3 separate regions of the Homo sapiens genome follow, and regions 1 and 2 are each linked to region 3. Evidence: promoter capture Hi-C in 16 types of primary human blood cells and fetal thymus (Javierre and others, 2016). All regions are on one chromosome and are shown on one strand. The core of a region is centred on a gene start or on the middle of the fragment in contact, and the rest is flanking DNA. Distances in the headings are between cores, read along the strand shown.

Region 1 (2,700 bases), core at 137-2,636, 220 kb after region 3:
CTGGGGACCCTGGCTCAGGCCTTGACCACCCCAAGCCTCAGCCTCCCTTTTTGGCCAAGAGCTGGTCTGAAGGCTTGCAGGGGCTCACAGCGGGGAAGCAGGAATTCTCCCTCCAGTCTGCCGGCCCTGGAGTGCCGCCGGGCAGGTGGCTGTTGGGGCTGGCAGGGCCGGTGCCCTCAGAGCGTGCAGAGGCAGTTTCCCCTGCAGAAGTCAGCTGTAAGGACACCTTCCCAGGTGCCCAGTGGGCGTCGGGGGAGGGGGTGGGCGGGGACGACACCCCCCTCCAGCTGGAAGGTCCTGGAGGGTCAGGTCCCGGTCCTGTCCGTGGGTCTCGCATCACAACCCCCGCCCCCCACTTTCCCTGGGAATCCTGTCCAGGACCCTGCTGTGTGACCCTGCAGAAGTGTCTGGTCCTCTCTGAGCTAGAACCACAAGTGCTCTCTTAAAAAGTGTCTCCCCTAGCCCTGGCTTGTTTTTAATTATAGAGATGGGGTTTCGCCATGTTGCCCAGACTGGTCTCGAACTCGCTGGGCTCAAGCCATCCACCCAGCTCCGCCCCCCAAAGTGCTGGGATTACGGGCGTGAGCCCCCGCGCCCTGCCGGGCCCCAGCTCTTCTTTCGAGGCTGCAAAACCCCACATATCTCAGGGCCACCTTCAGAGAACCTCTTTGTTATCCGTTTAAATTAGTCAGATGGGAGACAAAGACCGTGCAAAGCGGCTACCGCCCCTCCCCCCAAGACACCCCCAAGGTGTCCCAGAGGCCAGGAAATTCCTGTTTGTGGGGGGGTAACACTTCTCAAAAACCACTCGGCCATGCCCCTTCCCCTCCCAAAGCTAAGAGGCCCCAAAAGCAGAAGTGTGGCCAGGAGATGACGGGGTTGCTGGGGTCCCCCCCAGACCCCCAGAGCGTTGTCGGACCTTGAACGGACCTTCTCGAAGGTTGAGTGGGCGCCAGGGGCTTCACACGTGGGGGTCCTGGGGCCATGGCGAGGGGACGAAGTCAGACCCAACTACCCCTAGATGTTGGGGGGGGGAATGGGTCACTCGTCCCCCAGATCTCAGACCTGGGTGCTCCCCAAGATTCGCGGGAGCCTCAGGGGGTGCCCGCAGACATCCCCCCACCAGGCGTCAGGGAGAACAAGGGCCCGTCCGCCCCGGGTCTCCAAGCTCCCTGCCCGGGAGGTGCCGGGGGCGCCTGGGGGCTCCTGCACCGGTCGGAGCGTGCGACGGCCGCGCTGTCGGGGGGACAAGGGGCGCCCCTCACTCACCCGGTTCTTGACCTCGGCCGACAGCCCGTACGAGGGGCCCTTGTTGAACTGCGTGGAGCTCATGGCTGGCGGGCGGGCGGCGGGACGGGGCCGCACAGGACGGGACGGGACGGGACCGCCGGGCTGGCGCGGGGTTGGGACGCGCCGGGCTCCGCGCGCCACGCCCCCGCCGCTGATTGGCCCGGAGCGCAAATGTCCTTATAAGGCCTGGAGGCGCCGAATTCCTGCGGCCGCGGACTTCCTGAGCCCCCTCGGTCGCCCCCGGACCCCCGCCTGGGCACAGCACCCCCGTCACCAGAGGCCTGGAGGGGCCCCTCGCCCCCTTTGATGCCACGGGAAACTGAGGCAGGGAGGGGCCGAGGCCGCCGGGACGTGGCACTCCTGCGGGCTCTCTGCTCAGAGCTCGTGGGCGGCTCTCACTCTTTCTCCATCTCAGACTTCTCTTCTGCCAGAAAGGGGAGGGGAGAAGGCTACCTTTGGGGCAGGAATGAGGGCCCCTCTCTGCCACTTAGAGGCGTCTAACCCCTTCCCAGGGAACTCTACTAGCTGGGAGGTGGACCAGGGAACCAGGGCAGGTTCCTCAGAGAAGGGGCCATTGGAGCTGGGGCTTTGTTGGATGAGTAGGAGTTTGTCAGTCCAAAAGAGAATAGGATTCTTACTGGGTGCGGTAGCTTGCACCTGGAGTTCTAGCTACTTGGGAGGCTGAGGCCGAAGGGGGAGGATCCGTTGAGCCCAAGAGGTCGAAGCTGCAGTGAGTTATCATCACAACATGACGCTCCAGCCTGGGCAGCAGAGCAAGAGCCTCTCTCTAAAAATAAATAAATAAATAAAAATAAAAATCCGAGTGGCTCACGCCTGCAATCCCAGCACTTTGGAAGGCCGAGGCGGGCGGATCACTTGAGGTCAGGAGTTCCAGACCAGCTTGGCTAACATGGCGAAACTCCGTCTCTACTAAAAATACAAAAATTAGCCGGGCATGGGGGCACATGCCTGTAATTCCAGCTACTGAGGAGGCTGAGGTGGGAGGATCACTTGAAGCCAGGAGGCGGAGGTTGTAGTAAGTCGAGATCGCGCCACTGCACTCCAGCCTGGGCGACAGAGCAAGACTCCGTCTTAAAAAAAAAAACAAAAAAAAAAAACACAAAAAAACCCTAATAATAATAAATTATTAAAAAGTCTCCGGGACAGTCTCCTGCCAGGCAGTGCTGGCTCTCAGGAGACCTTAGCTCTGGCCCAGCCCATGCCCAGGAAGACAGAGCTGGCACAGACCAACCCCCAACCCGGATTCCCTGTATGAGCCAGCACAGGCGGAACCCCCCCACCCCGCCCACCCTGTTTCCCTATATGAGCAAGTACAGGACAGAATGAGAGGCTTGGGGCTGGAGGAACTGGAGGGAGAGTTGGGGCTCTGTCGGAGGAATCAAGGAAAGC
Region 2 (2,806 bases), core at 307-2,806, 150 kb after region 3:
TTTTTCTCGATGGAGTCTTGCTCTGTCACCCAGGCTGGAGTGCAGTGGTGCGATCTCGGCTCACTGCAACCTCCGCCTCCCGGGTTCAAGTGATTCTCCTGCCTCAGCCTCCCGAGTAACTGGGAGTACAGGCACCCACCACCAAACCTGGCTAATTTTTGTATTTTTAGTAGAGACAGGGTTTCACCATGTTGGCCAAGCTGGTCTGGAACTCCTGATCTCATGCTCTGCCTGCCTCGGCCACCCAAAGTGCTGGGATTACAGTGATGAGCCACCACTGCTAATGGGATTTTTGCTTGAATCTATCCTCACTGTATTCCCTGACCTCCCCATGTGATACTGCAGTTCTCCCATTCTCCCCATGTCACTTAGCCTCCCTGCTCTTTCTTCTTCCGTAGCTTTGTCACTTTCTAACGTTGTTATTTATTTTATTTTATTTCATTTCATTTTATTTTTGAGACAGAGTCTTGCTCTGTTGTCCAGGCTGGAGTGCAGTGGCACGATCTTGGCTCACTGAAACCTCCACCTTACAGGTTCACGAGATTCTCCTGCCTTAGCCTCCTAAGTAGCTGAGACTACAGGCACCTGCCACCTGGCCCAGCTAATTTTTTGTATTTTTAGTAGAGACGGGGTTTCACCGTGTTAGCCAGGATGGTCTTGAACTCCTGATCTCATGCTCTGCCCGCCTCAGCCTCCCAAAGTGCTGGGATTATAGGCATGAGCCACCGCGCCCGGCCACGTTATTTATTATATTTTACTAAATCCTGTCTTTATCTGAATGCAAGGGATACTTGGCCTGTTTTATTCACCATCACTGTAGGTTGCTGAGTAAATGTTGAATTAACGAATGCATCACTGAATAAGTTACTGATAGCCTGCACACAGGAAGTGTTGGGCTGGGGTTCTCCGTGAACCTGGGGAAGTGAGGAGGTTTGCAAAGACAGGAAGAGTCTGGGGTGGGGAGATACCCAGGCTAGGCTGGGGAGATACCCAGGCTAGGCTGGTGGCGCTCAGGGGAGAGGACAGAGGTGAGGGGACTTAATAAGCACCTAGAGAGATGCCTAAGACTCTCAGTTAACCGTCTAAAGTAGGGACACTTTATTGCCATTGCACAGGTAGGGAAACTGAGGCCCAAGGGAATTAACCCTGACCTGGCCAGGAGCCAATGGAGGAAACCCTGTACAGTTTGATGCACAAATATTTATAGAGTTCCCACTAGGCTCCCAGACCATCCCTAGGAGCCGAGCTGCCCCTTGACCCCATCCAGGCCTCAGTTTCCCCGCTCACACTTCGCCCCCGCCTCGTGGGATTCTAAACTGTTGCTCCAAGGTGGGAGTTGAACGGAAACTACAACTCCCGAGAGGCTGTGCGGCCAAAGACACACGAGAACTACGGAGGCGAGAGACTCGCTCAGCCAACTGCCGCTCTCGTAAGGCTCGGGCTGCCCTTGGCGCTGCCGATCCGAGACGTTGCTGCATTCAGGCATTCGCCGACGACAGACCAGCGCGGGGCGGGGTTAGGCGGAGGGGGCCTGATTCGGATTCGGCGCAGGCGCAGTCCGCGCGGGTTCTCGCGCGGAGAAGGGGTGCGAGCGGCGGCGGCGGCGGAGGCTGCCATGGACGACGAGGAGGAGACGTACCGGCTCTGGAAAATCCGCAAGACCATCATGCAGGTGAGCCGCGCCTGGTGTTGGGGGCGGGGGCGCGGGCGGCGGGTGTAGGGGCCCGAGGTGGGGTCGAGCACGGCGTCTCCTCGTACTCTCGTCGGAGCAGCAGCGATGAAGGGCCGGGCCGATACGGGAGGCCCAGAGGTCGCCGGGGATACCAGGCGCTGGACCCGACCTGAGCCGGCAGCGGGGAAGGGAGGGGGTTTCGAGACGTCTGGGTGCGGTGCTTAGGGGTGGGTGGGCGGCTTGGGCTGGTGCGGCGCGCGTGGCGGCGAGAGGAGGAGGAAGCCGCGAATGGGGACGGGGGGCGCCCCCAGACTCTGCCCTTCTCTGTGATTCAGCGTCGCTATTTGTCCTTGCGTCCTGAACCCCATGGAGTCTTCAGCATCCGAGGCTGGCAGAGTTGGTGGTTGGGAAGCAGCGGGCGAGCTGGGGCTTTCGATGGGGACGTGGAGCTCGGAACCCGTGCCTTGGGGTCTGGGGCAGATGGAGGCCACTGGGTCGAGTCCGGTTTGGAAGCCGGGCACAGGCCTGAGGACCTGCGGTTCAGGGTATTGCCTCAGCCATTGGGGCCGTTTGAGAGCTTTTGCTTTGTCTTGCTTCCCACCCTTTGCCCTTGTCCTCAGCGAAGCCCCCCGCAGCCTGATTCTTCTTTCTCCGATCCTCAAACATTGTCAGCCTGAAGTCACATCTGTTTCGGTCCCTGTCATTTTTTTTTTTTAAGAGATAGGGTTTCATTCTGTCGCCCAGGCTGCAGTGCAGTGGTGCAATCATAGCTCACTGCATCCTTGAACTGGCCTCCAGCAACCCTCCTGCCTCAGCCTCCCTAAGTACTGGGATCACGGGCGTGAGCCTCCGCGCCCCGCCTTTGTCCCTGCCTTTAGGGTAGCTCTGCAAAGTGGTTTGGAGGGCTTTGCTCCCTGCCAGGTTTCTGTGAGGCTGGGTGGACAGACGGTCTTGGTCAAGGCTGGACATCTCTGGGAGCCTCTCAGGATCATACTGGTCCCATCCTGTGGTGTGAGGCTGTGGGGGCCGGGGTGGCTGTCATGGAGCACACAGTGAGTGTTCATCCCGTTTGCTGTTCACCTCTGTCCTCTGCAGCAGCCGCAGGTCTGACTTCCGGGTCACGAGCTTTGGCCG
Region 3 (2,700 bases), core at 159-2,658:
GCGCCGCTCGGCTGGTGGCGCTGGGTGCCGTCTGCCGCCCGGGTCGCGCTTCCTCGCGCGTCCCCTCCCTTAGCAACAGCCGTCGCCGCCGCTCGGAGGATCTGGGGGTGAAAGTAACAAGAAAAAAAAGTTATAATGTATCAACGTTCCAGGGGGCGGGGCCGCCGCCCCCTCCCATTCACTACTTACTCCGCCGGCCGGGCGCCGGCCAATCGCCGCGCGCCGAGCGCCCAGTCGGCCGCGAGCCCGGGCCTATGAGAGCCGCCGCGGCACCGCCCCACGTGGCAGCCGGGCCCGCCCCCTCGCCCCGCCCCCAGCGCCCAGGCGACCAAGGGGAGCGCAGCGGGGGCGGGGCTGGCGCCTCTCCGCGCCCGCCCCCGCCCCGCCCGCGCCCGCAGCCATTCATAAGCGCCCGGAGCCCGCAACAAAGGGCGGGCGCGCCCCGGGGGGCGCGGGACCCAGGTCTGGAGACGGGTCTGGTACCCCTCGCGATCCCAAGGGAGCGGCCGGGAGCGGGAGGGGGCGCGGGCCATTGTTCCCGGCGCCGGGAGGGGCAGGAAGTCGTGGGGCCACCCCGCCGCCTTCGTCCGGGAAAAGCCGCGAGCGGAAGCGGGAGCGCGAAGTCCGCGCCTCGTGGCCGGGGTCCCGGGGCGGGCGGGCGACGGTGAGGCTAGGGCCGCGGCCCCGGGGAGGGCGTGGTGCGTGGGGGCGGAGTTGTGGCCGGGGCGGGGCGCCCGCACCTCGGTGACGTGGCCGGGTGGCTGCCGCCGGGGGCCCCGCGCGCCCACCCGCCGGCCGCGGGCAGAACCCGTTTCCCCGAGGCGCGCCCGCTCGAGCCGTGACGTGACGCGGCGTCCCCGGCTGCGCCCGCGCGCGCTCGGGGATGCGGTGAGTCAGCAGCTCGGGCGCGCCCTCTGCCGGGCCCGCCTGGGAGCGCCGCCCGGAGTCCCGGGGAGGGGGCGCCGCGCTGCCCCTGGCAGGGGAGGAAGACGACTGGGCTGCGCGCGGGGGAGGAACCCCGATCGGGAACGAAAGACTGTAGTCGGGAGACTGGGACCGTGTGGCTGGGCAACGGAGGGCGGAACGGCAACCAGTTCAAGGTCACCCGCGGTGAAGGGGGAGTGCCCCGGGGGGCGGGGCGGGGGCTGAGGTCCGGCCAGGGCGGCGCTGGCTGCGCGGAGCCCCTCCCACCCCGCACCCCGGGGGGCTTCCCAGGACCGGAGGCTCCCCGATCCCTCCTGTCCCAAGAACAAAGAAAAGTGCGGGCATCCTGAGCCATCTAGAGTGGGCACCCTTCCTCGGCCCGCAGGTCCCCCCCCTCCACACTCACCGGGCGCGGCCGGTTCTGCGCTCCAAGTGCTGCGAGTACCTTCGTCCGGGGCCGAATGCGCGCTGGCCGGGCCGGTCTGGGCCAAGCGCGCGGCCCTCAGCCTTTATCCGCGCCGCCTTCCCTCGGGGTGGAGTTAGGGCGGGCAGGGGGGCGGGGGGCCGGGCGGGCGGTGACGCAGACTGGCCCCCGCCCCTGCCTGCCGGCCCTGGCCCTGGGGCGCCTTGACGGCTGGGCCACCCGGGACCCAGGCTTGGCGCAGTTCATGGGGGGACTCCCCTTGAATGCCCCGAGCCAAGGGTCTCGGCCCGCCTCGCCGCGGGCTGAGATGCACCCCGAATCGTCAGCGGGACAGGGTTTTGGGGTGTACAGCGCGACTCGCTGCCCCGCCCCCTTCCTGTCGCCCCAGGCCCGGTGCTTCCGCCTGGGGGCGCCCGCGTGGGGGGGACGGGAAGAGGGGCCTGAGTCAGCGGCTGTCGTCCAGGAAAACAGGCTGGAGTCACCTGCCGTAGAGTGGGGGTGCCCTGGCCAGCCCTGGCCTCCTGCATCTGTCAATGGTGACCTCAGAGGGCATTTATGGAGCGATTAGCCAGTGCCAGGCCTGCCTTGTGCCCAGCCAGTCACCAGCCGGCTATGCTGTGACCCCGGGAGGTAACTGGCCTCTCCAAGCCTCAGTTTCTCCAGGGTGGGTGGGAGTGTGGTGAGGGGATGCGGCAGGATCACTTTGGGGCCATCACCCCCCATTAATGCAGGACATGCACTGGTTCCCAGCCTTTGGGGTGGGCATTACCCCATTTTACAGATGAAGAAACTGAGGCCACAGCCAATGAGACACGAATGTGGTGTGCATCTCACCCTTCCCCGTCGGCTTTTTGAGGATGGTCCTGGTTGAGGTGGGCCCCGTCCTGCCCCTCTATTTAGAGAAGGGGACCCCATTCCTACGGGAGCACCTCCTGTCCACTCATCTGGCCCCTCCCTTTATCTGGCCTGACCACCTCCACCCCCACCCTGGCCATGGGCGCCCCTCCCAGGGCTGCGCTCCTCCCCAGGTCTCCTTCCGGCTGCCACCCATGCTCCCGGCAGCCGTGGCCCCCACCTTGACAGGCACACCCAGCCCCGAAGGGTCAGGGCTAGGCCAGAGAGGGAGAGGCTGGGATAACCCTTGGAAGGGGGTCACAGGGGCTGCGGTTTGAGGAATGACTAGGAGTTTGTCACATAAAAAAGATGATGCGGTCGGGCGCGGTGGCTCACGCCTGTAATCCCAGCACTTTGGGAGGCCGAGGCGGGCGGATCACAAGGTCAAGAGATTGAGACCAGCCTGGCCAACATGGTGAAACCCTGTCTCTACTAAAAATACAAAAATTAGCTGGGCA

Evidence for each region. The method cuts DNA at HindIII sites, captures the fragments that hold promoters and counts their contacts. A CHiCAGO score of 5 or more calls a contact.
Region 1: a contact is called between the fragment with the promoter of CNN2 here and the fragment with the promoter of MIDN in region 3, in 17 of 17 cell types (monocytes, M0 macrophages, neutrophils and 14 more). The highest score is 35.5, in monocytes.
Region 2: the fragment with the promoter of POLR2E here is called in contact with the fragment with the promoter of MIDN in region 3 in 15 of 17 cell types (monocytes, neutrophils, naive CD4 T cells and 12 more); the score reaches 15.7 in monocytes.

Annotation. Positions count from the first base shown.
Region 1 is chr19:1,025,294-1,027,993 of GRCh38, reverse strand. CNN2 (calponin 2) reads right to left here and starts at 1,386. Exons shown (of 7, transcript NM_004368.4): 1 at 1,270-1,386. The coding sequence starts at 1,332. RefSeq lists a silencer at 1,099-1,738 and an enhancer at 1,729-2,460. The HindIII fragment of the contact is 13,555 bases long and covers 1-2,700 here.
Region 2 is chr19:1,094,125-1,096,930 of GRCh38, reverse strand. It overlaps POLR2E (RNA polymerase II, I and III subunit E), which reads left to right and starts at 1,556. Exons shown (of 8, transcript NM_002695.5): 1 at 1,556-1,672. The coding sequence starts at 1,616. RefSeq lists enhancers at 1,523-1,612, 2,370-2,806. The HindIII fragment of the contact is 25,451 bases long and covers 1-2,806 here.
Region 3 is chr19:1,247,291-1,249,990 of GRCh38, reverse strand. MIDN (midnolin) reads right to left here and starts at 1,408. Exons shown (of 9, transcript NM_001388306.1): 1 at 1,331-1,408; 2 at 1-101. It overlaps LOC102723811 (a long non-coding RNA gene), which reads left to right and starts at 1,919. Exons shown (of 2, transcript XR_007067082.1): 1 at 1,919-1,978; 2 at 2,130-2,700. RefSeq lists silencers at 1-4, 185-654, 685-804, 865-1,324, 1,415-1,954 and an enhancer at 798-1,331. The HindIII fragment of the contact is 31,339 bases long and covers 1-2,700 here.